2 separate regions of the Homo sapiens genome follow, and region 1 is linked to region 2. Evidence: promoter capture Hi-C in 16 types of primary human blood cells and fetal thymus (Javierre and others, 2016). All regions are on one chromosome and are shown on one strand. Each heading gives the region's core, a stretch centred on a gene start or on the middle of the fragment in contact. The rest is flanking DNA. Distances are from core to core; before and after follow the strand shown.

What was found. Contacts are between HindIII fragments. The CHiCAGO score rates a contact against its expected background, and 5 or more counts as called.
Region 1: a fragment that was not itself captured here is called in contact with the fragment with the promoter of GNG10 in region 2 in 1 of 17 cell types (total B cells); the score reaches 5.3 in total B cells.

The regions. Positions count from the first base shown.
Region 1 is chr9:112,502,734-112,508,238 of GRCh38, forward strand. All of the region lies in intron 1 of KIAA1958, which reads left to right. Among named protein-coding and RNA genes, the nearest start is that of HSDL2-AS1, 18 kb to the left of the region's middle. The HindIII fragment of the contact is 583 bases long and covers 2,780-3,362 here.
Region 2 is chr9:111,659,237-111,664,360 of GRCh38, forward strand. It overlaps GNG10 (G protein subunit gamma 10), which reads left to right and starts at 2,369. Exons shown (of 3, transcript NM_001017998.4): 1 at 2,369-2,479. The coding sequence starts at 2,399. The region is part of intron 1 of DNAJC25-GNG10 (DNAJC25-GNG10 readthrough); the gene reads left to right. RefSeq lists enhancers at 1,950-2,009, 3,080-3,179, 3,380-3,429 and silencers at 2,190-2,639, 2,670-2,789. The HindIII fragment of the contact is 12,879 bases long and covers 1-4,982 here.

The DNA of each region.
Region 1 (5,505 bases), core at 1,821-4,320, 840 kb after region 2:
TGCATTGGCAGAATTGAGTAGTTACGATAGAGATCTTGCAAAGCAGAAAATATTTACTATCTGACTTACTCCAGGAAAAGTTTGCTGACCCCTGCATTAGAGCATTATTTAGAATACTAAAAGATTGGCAGTGACCGATATGTCCATCAGTAGGGGAATTATTGGCTAAATCCTTGATAAAACTGGATCTAGCCATTTACAATGATGATTATAGAGACTGTTTAACCAACAAATATCTAATGGGTATTCACCATGTGTTAGGTACTTTTCTAGATGCTAGGAAATCAGTAAAAACAAAGTACTTGCCCTCATAGAGCTTAAATTTTAGTAGTGGAGGTAGAGAAGAAACAAAATAAATAAGTAAAATAACATGTAAGGGATAAGTGCTAAGAAGGAAGAAAAAAAGCAGGAAAGGGGGATATGAAATATTTCAGGGTAAGGTCTTGACATTTTAGATTAGGGTTGCCAAGGAATATCTCACAGAGAAAGTGACTTTTGAGTAAGCACTTAAAATGAATGAGAGGGCTTGACATTCAGGTATCTGGAGGAAGAGCATTTGAGGCAAAGGGAACGGCAAGCACAAAGGGTCAGTTGGAAATGTGCCCTGATATGTTCTAGGAACAAGAATTTCAAGAGCTGGCTGGTCGCGGTGGCTCACTCCTTTAATCCCAGCACTTTGGCAGGCCGGGGTGGGAGGACTGCTTAAGCCCATAAGTTTGAGACCAGCTGGGAAACAATACTCCTTCTCTACAAAAAATAAAAAAAATTAGCCAAGTGTGGTCGTGCATACCTGTAGTCCCAGCTACTAGGGAGGCTGAGGCTGCAATGAGCTGTGTTCATACCACTGTACTCCAGCCTGGGCAACAGAGCGAGACCCTGTCTCAAAAAAAAAAAAAAAAAAAAGGTCAAGGGCTCCGCTAGAGTGAAGGAGGGGAGAGCTGCAAGGAAAAAGAGTTGCAAGAGTTTGGACAGATAATGCTGGTGGTAGTGGGTAGGGTAGATCATGTAGAACCTTCTGGCAAAATGAAAAATCCCTATTAAAAATTGTTCAAGTAGGAAATAGAATGATTTTTCTCCCTTCCATTTTCCCTCCTTCCCTGATCATGACTGTCATGCAAAGCTATGCATAAGGAAAAGATTGGAAGGAAATACCCTAAAATGCTAACAGTGTTAATGTGCTGGGGTTATAAATTATATATATATATATATATATTTGCCATGCTTTCTATAATTTGGCTATATTTTATAATAAGCATAATTAAAAACGAAGTATTTTGCATATTTCTGTCTTTTAATACCTTAGAAATCAAGTACTTTAGATCTTTCTCAAGTTGATTGTAACCTGGCTTTATTGATGGTGGGCAACAGTGTCTTAAATCATCTAAGGAGTTGTTGGTTTTTTAATTATGTATTAATCTTTCAGGGTTTGAACCAGAAGGAACTGTAGAGATTATCTTTTTTTTTTTTTTTGGAGACAGAGTCTCACTCAATCACCCAGGCTGGAGTGCAGTGGTGCGATCTCGGCTCACGGCAACCTCCACCTCCTGGGCTTAAGCAATTCTCATGCCTCAGCCTCCCGAGTAGCTGGAATTACAGGTGCGTGCCACACTACCCCCAGCTAATTTTTGTATTTTGAGTAGAGACGGGATTTCGCCATGTTGGCCAGGCGGGTCTCGAATTCCTGACCTCAAGTGATCCACCGGCCTCGGCCTCCCGAAGTGCTGGAATTGCAGGCGTGAGCCACCATGCCCTGCCAAGATTAACTATTTTTAATCCCCTTATTTTACAGATGGGGAAATGATCTGGAGGAGTGAAGGAACTCTGGCTTCTAGTTCCTTTCATTGTATGTTTCATCCCCATTTAATCTGAGGTTATCCAGCACTGGAGTGATTTTTGTGATTCATAATTTACCTAATCTTATCATAAAGATAAGATTATGACAAGAAAATCTTTGAAAATGATGAAATCTGAGTCTGTTTTGTCCAAATTTTCTCAGTGCCAAAACCACTATAGCAAATATGATGCCAATAATGAAGTTTTTTATGTATGTATGTGTGTCTATATGTATATATGTGTAGATGTATATACATTTTTTATTTATACAAATTTATGAGGTACATGTAAAATTTTGTTAACATGTGTATAATGCGTAGTGATCAAGTCAGGGTATTTAGCATGTCTATTGCTGGAGTACAATACATTTTTGTTGAAGATAGTCACCCTACTCTGCCATCTAACGTTGAATTTATTCCTTCTATCTTACTCTATGTGTACCCTTTAAATCGGTTATCTTCATCCTCCCCTTGGTCCCCTCACTCAACTTTCCCAGTCTCTGTTATCTGTCTTTCCATTCTCTACCTCCATGTGGTCAAGTTTTTTAGCTTCCATGTATAAGAATATGTGATACTTGTTTTTTTGTGCCTGGCTTTATTTCACTTAAGATAATGACTTCCAGTTTCATCCATGTTACTGAAAATGACCTGATTTTATTCTTCCAATAATGAGTTCTTTAGGCTAGCACCCTGGTTAAGACTAGACTTTGGACTCAGACTGCCTGGCTTTGAATCCTGTTTCTGGCCCTTATTAGTACATAACTTCTCAGTGCTTTAGTTTCCGCGTTTATAAAATGAGTATAATACTAAGTATATAGCCCATGGGGTTGTCGTGAGGATTAGGTAAATTCGTGTGAGTAGAGTGCCAGGCACATAGGTTATATTATTACTGAGGCTTAAATATCTAGAAGAGAGTATATTTGAACGCTAGATAGCAAAGAAAATTAAGCTTAACAAATCCTTGAATTGTATGGTGTGAAGTCTATATGTCTCTATTTTGACTTTGCAGGCAATGTAGTAATTTATTAAGAACATTTTAAAACTAATAACTTTAATTAGCATAGTGGTTTCAAATTGTATGTTGTTGTAGCACCTCACAGATGGTTATCAAATTTTGTTGAAAAGGATGTTTACTTTCATTTCATTCAGAGAAATACTGTGATTTAGGTAAATGGCCTGAGTGGTCAGGTGATGAAAGGTGGGACAGGATGCCTGATGAAAGGCAAAGCACGGGATCCAGGCAGCTGTAGGAAAGATTGCTTGTTTACTGGAGCAGACAGGAACTTTGCTTTGTGAGTGTATAGGTCAGGGCAATAAAAAGTTCGACTTAAGCTGACAAACAGCAGTGAGGGGGGATCAAACAGAGAACGATGCGTATGTATCCCTTTCCTTTGAAATGTGTCACCAAATTCTAGCATTTGAGTGTCCCTTAGTATCAAAGAGACAGAAGACCGCTGAACTCATATAATGGATATAATTAAGAATGAACAAATTGTGTTTCTATAAAGTAATTTTTGAACTATAGGGTAAAGCTTTTGGTAAAATCTGAAGTATGGAGAAAAATGAAATTTATAGAGTACTGTGGCAATTTGTAAAAACAAATGTTAGAGGCCAGGCGCGGTGGCTCACACCTGTAATCCCAGCACTTTGGGAGGCCGAAGCAGGCGGATCACAAGGTCAGGAGATCGAGACCATTCTGGCTAACACGGTGAAACCCCGTCTCTACTAAAAATACAAAAAATTAGCTGGGCGTGTTGGCGGGCGCCTGTAGTCCCAGCTTCTCGGGAGGCTGAGACAGGAGAATGGCATGAACCTGGGAGGCAGAGCTTGCAGTGAGCCGAGATCACGCCACTACACTCTAGCCTGGGTGACAGAGCGAGACTCTGTTTCAAAACAAAACAAAACAAAAAACAAATGTTAGAATGTTTTTTCTTCATGGTAATTAAGGATAATTTTATATGTGTAGTGTGTCCTGATGTGTTACGTGTTTATACATGTTTGTGACTACCTGGGTACTTGGGGGTTGCACAAGGTTCCGTTACTTTTTTTACTGGGAAAAATATGGCCTCTTTTTGCAGTGCTGATATTATTTTCTTTAGTATTAAAATTTCAGAAGTTTTTGCTTGCTCAAGCTACTGCTTTTTTTTTTTTCTTGTAAACACAGCTGGATAAATGCAGATAGAGTCTGCAGTGTTTCTGCCACACTAGCTTTATTAGAAAGTTTTTGCCTTTTTTTGCCGGATCATGGGTTGTGATTTAGGGTTTCTGTGGGCACATTAATTCTGAATAGAACCTGAGATTGTGCTTAACTAGAAGTGTGGTAGTTTTGGTAGTGAGTTCATAACAGGACCCAGGTACTTACATACTCAGTGGTCATTGCTATTGTAGCAATTGTGGTATTTAATTCAACTTGAAGGTCACTTGGAATATTTCTAGGCCATTACATTAGACCTCTGAGAAAAATTTTTTAAGTGCTTCAATATTTATGATTTAGTTAATAGTTAAGCTAAGGACTTTTAGAAGTATTTGTGGGTAGAGGGAAGGAGGCCATACATTTACAGAGACCCTGATAAAGCATGAAATTGTGACACTGAATTTGCCTTTCTTTCCCAACTCCCTGCTGATGCACTAAGCTCTGGTCCAAGGGGTGGCATATGACTCTCAAATAGCCCCTGTATCCTTTGCTAGTCACTCTTTTCAGGGCTTAGGTTGATATATCATATGCATATAAGAATGTTTAGAAAAGATGTGTGGAACTGACTGAGTATTTTAGGTTTTGTTTTTTGTTTTTGTTTCTTTTTAAGAGACAAGTTTTCAGTCTAATCCAGGGTGGAGTGCAGTGGTGTGATCACTGCTCACTGTAACCTTGAACTCCTGGGCTCAAGTTATTCTTTTGCCTTAGTCTCCTGAGTAGCTACCATTATAGGCATGTGCCACTATATCTGGTTAATTTTTTATTTTTTTATAGAGATAGGGCCTCACAATATTGCTCAGGCTGGTTTTGAATTCCTGGCCTCAAGTGATCCTCTTGACTTGGACTCCCAAAGTGCTGGGATTACAGGCCCTGAGCGACTCACTGTGCCTGGCCAGTTTGATTCTTTCGAATGGGAATTTTTGTTTTGTGTGACATCAATCAAACATCTATACCTATAAGATCAAAGTATAACCCTAAAATGCTGTATCTGTTTTTCTTTCTCTCTCTCTCTTTCTTTCTTTCTTTCTTTTTCTTTCTCTTTCTTTCTTTTTTTTGAGAGATGAGGTTTCACTATATTTCCTAGGCTGGTCTTGACTTCCTGGGCTCAAGCAGTCCTCCTGCCTCAGCCTCCCGAAGTGCTGAGATTATAAGTGAGATTCTATCTTTTAGCCTTATGTGGTAATTCTAAATATTTTTGTGGGTTTTTGACCCCTTTGAGAATTGGATAAAATCTTTGGACTCCTTTCTTATTAAATACATATCTATATATACAACCTATAATTTTGTATACATTTTAGGAAATATGTGGACTCTTGGTGGACTATGCAAACAATCTCTGTTTTGTGTATTTACATTTTAGCATATGACTTTCTTTTAAGAATAGAAACCTTAAAGGCTTGAAAAGGATTAGGAGACTGAGCTTCGGAGCTTCCAGGGAAAATTTACTTTTTTGAGAGAGGAGAGATTAACATGCTATTT
Region 2 (5,124 bases), core at 1,119-3,618:
TGACATGGCTGACGTGTGTCCCTTCATTGAGGGCAACTCCAAAGCCTTCATTTCTAATGATTTTGAGGTAATCTCATTATTTCAGCTGCCATTGCTGTGGAGACATCTTCACATTAACATCTTGGCTACTAAACATTTTCAGCAGCCTAAAGGCATGTAGCAATGCCATGGAAGTCACTTCGTTACTCCTAAACCAAACCCCACATTATTTTTTACTCATCTCAAGCCAAGTCTTGTTTCCTAATTTCTGTTTTGGCATTAGTTCTGGCCCACTCTCTGCTACAGAACCCTTTGTCCTCTTTTCTTTGCATTTCATAACCACCATGAAGTACCACTGATTTTGTCTTCTAAATTTGTTCCCCCTCATTCCTACTCTAACAGTCCTACCCAGGGCCTCATTCCAGCTACTCCCCCACCATCAGCCATTTATCTTCTCAACTTCAGTTCATTTTGCACATTCATCTCAGATTAATATTCCCAAAATGCCTTACCCTGTGGCTATCCCACTGTTTACCATAAACTTTTGTGTGTATGTGAGGTTTTCTATGACTTCTGGCCCTAGCAACTTTGTATCTGCTATTAGTCACTAGAGCTTCCTCTATTTTTAAATTTATTCACTCTACATGTGTGCATCGCCTCCAGCTGTCCTCCATACTGGACTGTTCTTCCTTCTGAGCCATCTGCAAGACACGTATCTCCAAAGTCCAGCTCTCACGATCTATGATGAGCCTTTCCTAATCCAGTATGTATATCTTTGCACTGAGTTCTTTGCCATATCTTTTAAATATGAAATCATTCTATTTTGTCCTATTCATCAGTCTCAGAATTGATTGTTGAATGTTCCCAACATGTACTTTCATCTCTTTACTAAGATATATATTAATTTCTTTGTGGTGAGGAAATTGGCCACTAGAGAGGGCTTTCAAATGTGCAAGTCTCCCTTTGGCCCAGGCACAGCTAATCTGAGCACGTCAATGCCACACATCCTTGCCTTCAAAGAGTAATTGGGCCAGGGGTGGGCCCATGACTTAATACCAGCCAGTGAGGTTCATTATGGGGATTTTTGCTGGAACGATTAGAAAGAAAAGAGGTACTATTTTTCCTGGGTTTGCTAGATGGGGACAGTGAAAGTGTGGTGCCTTCCTTCATACCACTAGAGAAGTCCATCTACCACCAAGGAAAATGAGGCTAATCTCAGGAAAAGCAGAATCAAAACAAGGAGGATGAGAGCCCCAAAATTATTATTTGGGTAATTGAATTCACTAGTTTAAAGTCCCTGGACTTTTCAGTTACACAAGCCAATATATTACCTTTTGCAATATTCAGTTTAAGTGAGTTCTGACAAATACAATGGTGTACAAGAATAATGACGTATTAATGATACATGGAAAAAAGCAACACAAAAATTTTAAATATAGTAACGATCCCAGTTTTGTAAAACACTTATTAAAAAATGCAGTAGGCCTATAATGCCAGCACTTTGGGAGGCTGAGGTGGGAGGATCACCTGAGCCCAGGAGTTCAACACCAGCCTGGCCAACATCGTGAAACCCCGTCTCTACTAAAAATACAAAAATTAGCCGGGCGTGGTGGTGTGTGTCTGTAGTCCCAGCTACTCAGGAGGCTGAGGCAGGAGGATCACCTGAGCCCACGAGGTGGAGGCTACAAGGAGCTGTGATCACGCCACTGCACTCCACCCCGGGTGACAGAGCAAGACCCTGTCTCAAAAAAAAAAAAAAAAAAAAAAAAAGCAGCAGAATAGAAACAATGATGACAGTTAAATGGTGAGATGAGAGTGAGAAACGCTGAATTTAATTTTATTCTGTATGTTTCACAAAGATGTCAGGGTCTGGGATTTTATCCAATTTACCATACTCCACCAAATCAACTGGTAGGATCTCCGTGAAACAGTAACAGGGTCATTTAGAAACCTGTTGCTGCCTCATGAAAATCCTATGAACTCTCCTTGGTTCCCCGGTGATACTGTCTGGCAAGGCCCCTTATCTCTCCAACTCATGTCACACCTTGGCTCCAGTTCTCATTTCTCAGGGGTGCGTGTTTGCTGCCGCCCACTCCATCCTCGCGTCCCACGCCCTCGCGATTCCTGCTCATCCTAGGGGCGCCAGCTTCGCTGGAGGACGCCGCGCTCTGCGGGTCCCCGCCTCGGTTCCAGGCCCAGCTGCAGGTGCCACCCAGGTTTCAGGCGCTGAGGAGCGGAGAGCACTGCCAGCTCGCTGGGGTCCCCGCTGTCTCTGGCAAGCGGCTCCGCGCCGGGTGGGCTGGGGCGGCGGGGCGGGCGCAGCTGCTTCCCCGCCCCGGGGCGGCACCCGCGCTCGGGGCTGGCGGCTCCTCCCCGCCCGGCCGGGCCCAGCAGCCCCTAGGAGCCCAGCGCCGCCGCCATGTCCTCCGGGGCTAGCGCGAGCGCCCTGCAGCGCTTGGTAGAGCAGCTCAAGTTGGAGGCTGGCGTGGAGAGGATCAAGGTGCGGGCCCCGGGTACCCACGCTCCGGTCCTTCCGCCCGCGGGGCGTGAGAAGAGGAGGCCGGCGGCCCGGACCGGGCGCCAGCGGGGGACTCGGTGGCGGCGGCGAGGCCTCGGCGGGGCGCGGGGGCGGTGGGGTCCGCGGTGAGGGAGGGCGCGGGGCAAGCCGGGGGCCCGGGCCTGACGGGAGGAAGCCGCGCCTGGGGGGCCCCGCGGTCGTGGTCGGTCCCGGTCCCTGGGGGTGCGCCCACTCCAGAAGGCGGCCGTGGTCAGTTCCTCGGAGGGCGCAAGGGATGCCGGCGACGCGCGGGCCGGGAGGGTGGACCCAGGGCTGGGGAGGCCACCGCAGGGCGGCGAATTGGTGATGGATTGGTAGGATGAGAGCGAGAGGGAGGAGAGCCAGGATGCTCGGGTTTCTGTCGTCGTGACAGGGTGGACGGCGCTGCCACCCGCCGAGGTAGAGAGGAGGGGGAACAGGTTTGGGGAAATGATGAGTTCGGCTGCGGACCTGGGGACTCCGGGGAGTCATCCGGGAGGTATTTGTCCTCATGGCCTGAAGCTCAGCGCCCAGGGCTGAAAGAGGTCATTCAAGTGCATTGGGGCGAAAAAGCCTCTTCTATGAAGAGCAGAGCTCAGAGCCTGGGACCCGGGGACCAGCCACACCGATGGCCGGTGGCCGAGAGAAGAGGAAATAAGAGACAGCAAGGTTTCCGAGCAAGGCCTAGAGAAGAGGAAATAAGAGACAGCAAGGTTTCCGAGCAAGGAAGTAGGGATTTCCAAAAACTGGGGGCTCAGTCAACATGTCCAGCGTTTAGTCAGTTGGCTAAAAGGCGTCTGTTGTAGAGCTGTGTTTAGCTACGAGTGCAGCATTATTTGCAGAAGATCTGTAAGAAGGAACACAACCAGGATAGTCCCTGTGCCTCAGTTTCTCCTTTGCTGTGTGCCTGGCACTGCTACAGGGAATAGGGTGGTTCTGGAGGGGAAGGTAAACAGCAACTTAACGGATACATAGCATCGCTTCATGTACTAAGTGGAGTGAAGATAATAAACAGGGTAAAGGGAGAGAGGGCTGTGGAATGCAGAGGTCTGGTGGCTTATGTGTTAGTAAAAGCAGAATCTGGACTGTCATAGGGTAGGCAGACGTTTTTTCTTTTTAAAGAAACCTAGTTTTAAAGAGGAAATAACGTGTTTTTTTAACTTAGGAAATGAAAAGCCATGTTTTAGGGTTGAGAGGAAGTAACAAATTATATTTTTAGGTTCCAGGGAAGAAACAAATGGAAGCCAATTGCTGGTAGAGGAGACAGGGCTACGGGGGGGTGGGGGATTGGTGGCACAGCTTCTGAGACAGGAAGAAAGAAGGTAAGGGTGTGTGTAAAGATAAGTTTCTAGATATGGGCTAAACTTGTATGGTGACACTTTTCTTTGTGAAATAGGAGGCCAGGTTTTCTTCTAAGGCAGAGGAAAGGGGACTAAGGGAGTGGCCCCTGAGCAGGCACGCAGATGCGCTGTGACTGAAGACCCAGCTGCTGTGACAAGGGAGACTGCTGGTCATATTTGTGATTTTTTTTTTTTCCTGCAGCAATCTTTACCATCCTGGAATGTGAGTGCTGAAGGTGAACGGTAGTTGAAAGAGGAGTAAGTTAGCAGGGGAGGTATGCCAGAAAGGTGGAGGTGGGGCCGGAGGGCAAGGCGTGTGAAGGTCTGGCCAGAAAGAGGCTGAGCCTAGATGGATAGAGAAGGAATGCAGCCAGCCTCCTGGTGATAGGTGAGACAGAAGGGGAGGAGGTGATGCCTGGTGATCTCGGTGAGGTCAGAGCAGAATAAAGGAAGAATAAAGGAGGCAGCACCCTGGATGGGAAGGAGAGATTGTGATCAGAGAGTAGGATACTGGAGTGTAAAATTTCAGAAGTGGAGCAGTTACAGGTGTTGTAACTGTATCTGTTGGCATTGAGGAGAAGGCTGTTTGAGGGGAAGAAGTCAGGGAACTGAAATGAGGGTTGTTGGAAATTCACAAAGACAATGTGGGGACATGAGGTAGAAAGGAAAACTGTGAGCCAGTCAGATGCCTGTCTACCCGCCAAGTAGCTAAGAAAGAGGAAAGATATTCTTTTTTTTTTTTTTTTGAGATGGAGTTTCATTCTTGTTGCCCAGGTTGGAGTGCAATGGCATGATCTCAGCTCACTGCAACCTCTGCCTCCCAGGTTCAAGCGATTCTCCTGCCTCAGCCTCCCGAGTAGCTGGGATTACGGGCACCTGCCACCACGTCCACTAATTGGCTTTTTTTTTTTTTTTGTATTTTTAGTAGAGATGGAGTTTCACCATATTGGCCAGGCTGGTATCGATCTCCTGACCTCAGGTGATCCTCCCGCCTCAAGCTCCCAAAGTGCTGGGATTACAGGCATGAGCCATGGCACCTGGCCGGAAAGATGTGCTTATCTACCTTTTAAAAATGATGATGAAACTGAGAGCCATATAATTCAGGTGAATTGCCTGAGCTCGCAGTAAGCTTATTTACAAATAGGATAATAAGCCTATTTAAGAGGTGCGCTCATGGAAGTATGATCTGGGGTACTTGGCAGGGCTTCCCTCAGACAATACCTTAGAGAGTCACAACCATTCCAGGGTCTGGTCTACCTCACATCCTCA